Linked DNA regions of Homo sapiens: region 1 is linked to region 2. Evidence: promoter capture Hi-C in 16 types of primary human blood cells and fetal thymus (Javierre and others, 2016). All regions are on one chromosome and are shown on one strand. The core of a region is centred on a gene start or on the middle of the fragment in contact, and the rest is flanking DNA. Distances in the headings are between cores, read along the strand shown.

What was found. Contacts are between HindIII fragments. The CHiCAGO score rates a contact against its expected background, and 5 or more counts as called.
Region 1: a fragment that was not itself captured here is called in contact with the fragment with the promoter of ZC3H10 in region 2 in 1 of 17 cell types (monocytes); the score reaches 7.1 in monocytes.

What each region holds. Positions count from the first base shown.
Region 1 is chr12:57,540,024-57,543,535 of GRCh38, forward strand. The region is part of intron 2 of DCTN2 (dynactin subunit 2); the gene reads right to left. Among named protein-coding and RNA genes, the nearest start is that of DCTN2, 5.4 kb to the right of the region's middle. The HindIII fragment of the contact is 6,101 bases long and covers 1-3,512 here.
Region 2 is chr12:56,116,951-56,120,684 of GRCh38, forward strand. ZC3H10 (zinc finger CCCH-type containing 10) reads left to right here and starts at 1,316. Exons shown (of 3, transcript NM_032786.3): 1 at 1,316-1,368; 2 at 2,138-2,201; 3 at 3,561-3,734. The coding sequence starts at 3,613. It overlaps RPL41 (ribosomal protein L41), which reads left to right. Exons shown (of 3, transcript NM_001035267.2): 2 at 239-261; 3 at 532-1,017. The coding sequence ends at 574. RefSeq lists a silencer at 991-1,040. The HindIII fragment of the contact is 1,863 bases long and covers 178-2,040 here.

The DNA of each region.
Region 1 (3,512 bases), core at 571-3,070, 1.4 Mb after region 2:
CCTGGGTGACAGAGTGAGACTGTCTCAAAAAAAAAAAAAAAATTCCTCTTTCAGCTCAGGGTAGAGGTGGCTCCAGATCCTGTGGTCGAGGCTGGGATGTCTCTGCATAGAGTGGGTGTAAGCACCCATAAGTGCAAACATGCAAACACAAAGGAGAAGTACACACACTATACCTTTCTCTGATTTGTCCCACCAAGCTAAAACCAGCTTGGGAGAAACTCAAGGAGAGAAAGAAGACAATGGGCCATAAGCTCAATTTCAAACCATGCGGATTGGGCAGAATAGGGAGGACAGAAAATCAAATAAAAGGAAAAGTGGTATATTAGTTTGCAGATAGTATATACCACCTCCAGGTCTGTCCTATGGGTGGGTTGAAGGTTGATGAGATTTTAGGCATGATTCCTGCATAACCTGGAGTAGTACTAGTCACCTTGATTGGAAGATTTCAAGTGCCCTGGCCCCGGGTGCCAGCTTACCTAGTACGTGACTCCCAGTCTCTTTCACTAAGGGACTCCCAGACCCCCCAGGGCTGTTTGGCTAAGTGGCTGTGCCTCAGAGGGCAAGATCTGAGGTTCTAAATCAGACAGGGAAAGTGGCCACTGTTACTCTCTGAGCCTATTCAGGCTGTACGCCAACACTGCAGCCAGGGTACTTCAAAACCATGATGACAAGGAAGATGGACAGAGCTGTAGAGTAAAACTGTCCGGGATGGATCAATATATTGCTGACCATCCATCCATTTCAAAAGGAGGGGTGCAGAAACAGAAAGACTCACAAAAGCACAAATAATCCAAGTTATCTTACAATTGCATATAAACCTCCTTCTCATCCCATTTACATTTCTCTAAAGACCTAGCATAGGGGAATATTAAAATGAGTTTTTCCCAGAGATAATCCACATACAGCCAAGAACTGAGGACTGTGGCTGTCATCCCTTTTGTTTTCTATCCTTGTCTAGAATAGCTAAAAGTCATTCCATAAAAAAATCTTCATTTGATCTTAGTCTGAGGAGGAGAAAGGAAACTGCCTTCTAACTCCAGCCCCTAAATGCCTCATGTTCAAAAACATTTAAAGCCTCCATGCTTCTATCCCATCCTCCACTGGACAGTTTTACTCTGCAGACCTCACAAGGGGAAGAGACAATGATTCATGGATCATAGCTGTTTCTAACCCTTGATTAATGATCTTTAAACATAAGGCCAGCAGGCCCCTCAGTGACCCAGCCAGGGACTCACTGGAATTTAAAACGATTAGCTACAACAATAGCACAGTGGCAGAGCATTGCATGCGAGATGGCAGATGAAAAAAACATGCAGAGAAGAAGCATTGAATGGTCTTACTTGTGCAAACTAGTGTCCAGGCAAGGTGGTGAGGAGGGAGGATGGGGGAAGCATTAGGAAAAACTCAGGTAAGTTCAAGTGCGCCAACAGTCAATGAACACAATCAAGCATACTCCAGGATCTTCTAAACTGTAAGGAAGTACTGTTTCTCATCTCAGGAGTGTCCAGTAATATCTACCTTTTGGAGAAATGAAGCCTCTGCCAGGGCCCCATCAAACTATGGCTAGGTCATTTTTTCCCCTTTTACTGCGGGTAGTTATGCCATAAAGAGAGAAGCTAAATTGTTTCTAATGAGGTTTTTCTTAATTTACTTCCCTTATTCCAGCAGTTCAAAAGCCATGAGCAGAAAGCCTCACTGACCCAAGGCAGGCTGTGGGCCCAGGGGTTAGGGTCGGGGTGTGTGTGTGGGTGGAATTCTATTTGGGAATTAGTTTTCCAAACATTTTAAGAAAAATCTCCAAGCAAGCCTATTGCCCCAATTAACCTGGGAGTGTCTGAAGTGCAAAGAGATCTTCCCAGATTGAGGAGGAAAGGGCTACAGCCCGTGCACTTTCCTGGTCCATTCCTGTTTTAGAAGATTTTACTTCCTGCTAAAATTGTTTTAAAGGGATAGTAGAAAAATCAGGATTGGCCAGGCACAGTGGCTCATGCTTGTAATCCCAGCACTCTGGGAGGCCTAGGTGAGTGGATCACCTGAGGTCAGGGGTTTGAGACCAGCCTAGCCAACATGGTGAAACCCTGTCTCTACTAGAAATACAAAAAATTAGCCGGGTGTGGTGATGGACACCTGTAATTCCAGCTACTCAGGAGGCTGAGGCAGGAGAATCTCTTGAACTCGGGAGGTGGAGGTTACAGTGAGCTGAGATCACGCCATTGCACTCCAGCCTGGGCAAAAAGAGTGAAACTCCATCTTGAAAAAAAAAAAAATTCACGATCATCTGTAGCAAAATTTAAATCTTTTATGCTTTCCTCCCCCATCCTCCCCACTATGGGAATCGGAAAATGTTTATGTTTAAGTTAAATTAGCAATTTAAATCTTTAAGGGATGTTTGAGGACATTTTTCCTTTAGTAGCCCAATTTCTTCCACAGTGGAGGAATCACAGGAAGAAAGTTATGGAGCAGTGAGGGTCAACACAACTTGACTATTCCTTTAGACAGAAATCTGGAGACCCGGCTGGCATGGTAGCTCACGCCTGTAATCCCAGCACTTTGGGAGGCCAAGATGGATGGATCACTTGAGGCCAGGAGTTCGAGACCAACCTGGCCAACATGGTGAAACCCCATCTCTACTAAAAATACAGAAAATTAGCCAGGTGTGGTGGCACATGCCTGTAATTCCAGCTACTTGGGAGGCTGAGGCAGGAGAATCGCTTGAACCGGGGAGGCAAAGGTTGCAGTGAGACAAGATTGTGCCACTGCACTCCAGCCTGGGGGAAAGAGTGAGACTCTGTCTCAAAAACCAAAAAGAAATCTGGAGACCCCCTGAAAGGTTCCACAAGAGTCTATCCATATTGGTTGTCTCTAGGGAAGAGAACTGAGTGGTGGTAGGCAGAGGTGGGAGGCAGATTTTTCACTACTTACCCTTGAATCCTCTGTTCCCTGTGCATACATTACCTACTTTAAAAACTGATAAAATTAAAGTTGAAAATAAACTGAAGATTAAGGCGGAGAATGCTGTTGTCAGGGGTTAAGAAGGTGACTGAGGCTGGGCATGGTGGCTCACGTCTGTAATCCCAGCACTTTGGGAGGCCAAGACAGGCGGATCACGAGGTCAGGAGATCGAGACCATCCTGGCTAACACATGAAACCCCGTCTCTACTAAAAATACAAGAAAATTAGCCGGGTGTGGTGGTGGGCGCCTACAGTCTCAGCTACTCGGGAGGCTAAGGCAGGAGAATGGCGTGAACCCGGGAGGTGGAGCTCGCAGTGAGCCAAGATCACGCCACTGCACTCCAGCCTGGGCGACAGAGTGAGACTCCGTCTCAAAAAAAAAAGAAAAAAAAAGAAGGTGACTGAAAATCTCATGGTTCAGCCACAAGACAGGTCATGTGCACTGTCACTTGTACTAGGTCTTGGGCAGGTAGGCAGGAAACAGACAGGCTGCTGGTGAGATCCCAGGCCTCACGGACATGACATTTCTAGATTATCTAAGCATACAATTCACTGCTCCT
Region 2 (3,734 bases), core at 66-2,565:
CGGTTAAGTGCTATGGGTAGAGAGGGTGGGCTTAGAAAAGGGTGGAATTCTGATCTTATGTTGGGAGGGTGTCCAAGTTACTGATGTAGTTGTTACGACCAATCTTTCATACTTCTTGGTTAAGAATCTGTCCGGTTCTAAAGAGTGCATTTCATATCCTTGCTAAGCCTACTAATAAGCTTCATCCCTTTTTTTTTTTTTTTTTTTTAATTATCTGCTGCTTGTGATCGGTTGCTAGTGGAGGAAGAAGCGAATGCGCAGGTACGTTGAGACTTTGCCAGCCCAGGAGGAGGGAAGTTCCTTGGACAAAACTTAGGAGAAACATTTGGTTTGGAAATCTTAAAAGATCTTTAGGAGAAAAACGTTTGAGTGTTTTCTCCCTGGAGCCAGGATTTAACAGAACAGAGAACGATAGAACCGTAGTGCTTGTTCATTTTACCACCTCATTCTTTATGTGGACGTTTGATTTAATGTGGGAGGGAAAGGCAACTCTGGTTTGAGGTGTATTCCATTCCTGTGTCTGCTTTTCAGGCTGAAGCGCAAAAGAAGAAAGATGAGGCAGAGGTCCAAGTAAACCGCTAGCTTGTTGCACCGTGGAGGCCACAGGAGCAGAAACATGGAATGCCAGACGCTGGGGATGCTGGTACAAGTTGTGGGACTGCATGCTACTGTCTAGAGCTTGTCTCAATGGATCTAGAACTTCATCGCCCTCTGATCGCCGATCACCTCTGAGACCCACCTTGCTCATAAACAAAATGCCCATGTTGGTCCTCTGCCCTGGACCTGTGACATTCTGGACTATTTCTGTGTTTATTTGTGGCCGAGTGTAACAACCATATAATAAATCACCTCTTCCGCTGTTTTAGCTGAAGAATTAAATCATCTTGTCTATTATGTTTTTTATGGTTCCATCGGGTGGGGGTTTTCTGTCATTAGAGTTTGCCCTGTCACTACCTGTGCTATGGAGGGTATCAAAGCTATAAAGGCAACAGCCCGGGTTACGTGGTGTGGTTTGCATCTCGCTGGAGTTGGATGGGATATGGTACGTCTCTGGAGGCAGGTTTTAGGTTTCGCGGGTTATTAGGGGCCAATGCTGGTACCGCCCCTTTCCAGGAGGGCTGCCTTGGCGACTACCGCTTAGACCATGTCGTGCCTTTGGGTTGGGTTGCCATAGTGACACGCAAAGCGTGCTGGGAACGCCCTGCGGCATGTCGCACGCGTACTTCATACACCATAGAGTATGGTTCCGGGTCTGCTGGCTAGAGCGTCACTTCTTCCGCAGGAAGCGGAAGAGCGATCGGGTAGGCGGCTCTTTGTCGAAGCTAGAGGACCGGCAGGCGGCAGCAGCAACTACGGCGGCGGCGGCAGGTGAGGGAGGCGGGAGACTTAGGTGGAGGCCGCGCCCGGAGGGGAGGAGTCGGGGCCGGCCCAGCGGCTGGGCTCGGCCAGGCCACAGAAGGCCCCCCAGAACCGAGCTGGCTCGTCCTCACACCCCAGGGCAGTGCCCCTTTTCTGAGTGACCCCGCATCGCGAGCAAACGCCAGCTTCGTGACGTCACAACCCTGCCCATCCCCTCAGCTTGATGACACCTGGAGCTCCAGCTCCCCGCTTCACTTCGCGCGCCCTTAGTGTCCCATTCACGTAGCCCACGGCTGAGCGCCGGCGGCACTGCACGGAACCTGCCAAGCTAGAAGACTTGCTGCGGGAAAACTCCTAGGACTTCTTTCGCAAACTCTAGGGTGTTGGGAAGCGTCACAATCACTGCCTTCAAGTCTAATCGGCCATCCCAATGCACTGTCAGACGCTGCCTTTTTGAGGTTCCTCACTAGCCATTACTAACTCCAGCCCTTGGCGGTGCTCTGACCCTCACATCCTCTTTCATCTTGAGGCAGGGCGCCCCGCACTCTTTGTTCACTCAGGGCTGGTTTTCCAACCCCTCCTCCCAGTCCCTCCGAATTAGTTTTACTCTTCTTACTGGCAACTTCTCCCTTGGACAGGTGAAGTTCAGTTTGAACCCTGAGGAAATCCTCACGTTCTCGAAGCTTTGCCGTTTTGTCAGATTTCTTGTGACAACCACCCCATAGTCCTCCACTCTTACTCCTTCTTCCACCCAAGTCTCTGTTTTTTTCCTGCTCAGAACCCAGCAGTGATGTGGAGGTGGAGACCCACAGGAGCCCCGGACTTCACCTGAGCTACCTCAGGTATCAATTCTGGGAGAGTGGGGTGGGGAGGAGCATCATAACTAATTATCTGCTGCTGGTGCGACTTGCAACGTGAGCCAGGCTTGGATAGATGGCATTTGTACTTCACCTGGTCATTCCCCTTTACTAAAAGTTTGTATCTTCTTTTACCACTTCTTTCCTTGATTGCTTCTATTATTCTGGGACTACCTCTCTTTAGAGGAGGAGGACCCTCTTACAGATTCTCTTGTAACTCTGGCCTCTGGTTTGGTTAGTTCATTTTAGGGAGATCTGAAGGCAAAGTCACAGTAGTGGGGTGGGGGTAGGTCAAGGCCAAAGGAATTAGGAAAGATTCCCTTATTCTCAAAGGGAACAATATGAAGTTTTCCTATTTCAGCAGCAGGGGGAGCCTGAACACCGCATAGGAAAGGCTTGGGAGGTCAGACACGTGGTAGCAGGGACTCCAGGTCTTACTGGGGGTGGAGAGAGGGGAGGGCTAGAACCAGGGCAGTGGACTGACATTCCAAAGCTCTCTTGGGAAATAGGAGACTTAAAAAGCTTTTATGGAGTCTATAAATAAAGAGGATCTTTCTGGGTTGAGGAATGGTGTGGTTGGATGTCAGTGGGATCTTCACATAGGGGAGTAGGAAGGGGGTGGGGAATGGGGAAAGGTCACTTGTTCCTGTGAAATTAACTCCTTCCCACTTGACCTTATCACAAATGGTTTGTCCTAGGAAATCTAGAAGTGGAGACTCTAACTTAGAACTCCTATCCTGAAATAGAAGGGGCTTACCTCTCTGCCGTTGACAGTGATGATGGCTGGGAGGGAATACTAAAATATGACAGGTTTTGAGACTCCCCTCAAGCTGGTGACACCAGTCTCTTCACCCAGGATTTCTTGGCTTCTAGAGATTTGATGTGTACAGAGCCCTTACCTGAGGAAAAGGAAAGGGGGTTAAGGAAGTTTTGTTACCAGTGTCCCATCTTCTACAGCCCTAGTAGCTCAGTAGCCCATCTTGGGCACTATTCCCAGTTTCCTTCCAGACTATTCAGATACTGACTGCAGTTTTAATTTCACTTCCACAACTTTAATAAGGTCAGCTCAAAAGGAAAGATGAATTCCAACACTATTTTTTCCCTGCTCCGTCCTGGGCCTATCCCTCCTCCGTTAGCCAGGCAAGTGTGAATCATTCTGACCCAGACCAGGTGCACAAAACCCTGGGAGGGGCTTTTGATGAGTCAGACATTTCAGCCAGAATTCTTATCCCTTAGATTCTCCATCTCTAAAGCCATTGCCCCTCTGGGCCACCTGCTTTATAGTCAGGAAGAGTGGGATCTCCCTGGAGGACTCCTGTTTGATACAGTTCTCCTCTTTTGTAGTGGTCACCAAGAGTGGCAAGATAAAGAAAACCCTGAGTTGGGCGGGACCAGGATGCCTGACCGGGACAGCTATGCCAACGGTACCGGGAGCAGCGGTGGAGGCCCTGGAGGTGGTGGCAGCGAGGAGGCCAGTGGGGCAGGGGTAGGCAGTGGCGGGGCCAGCTCAGATGCCAT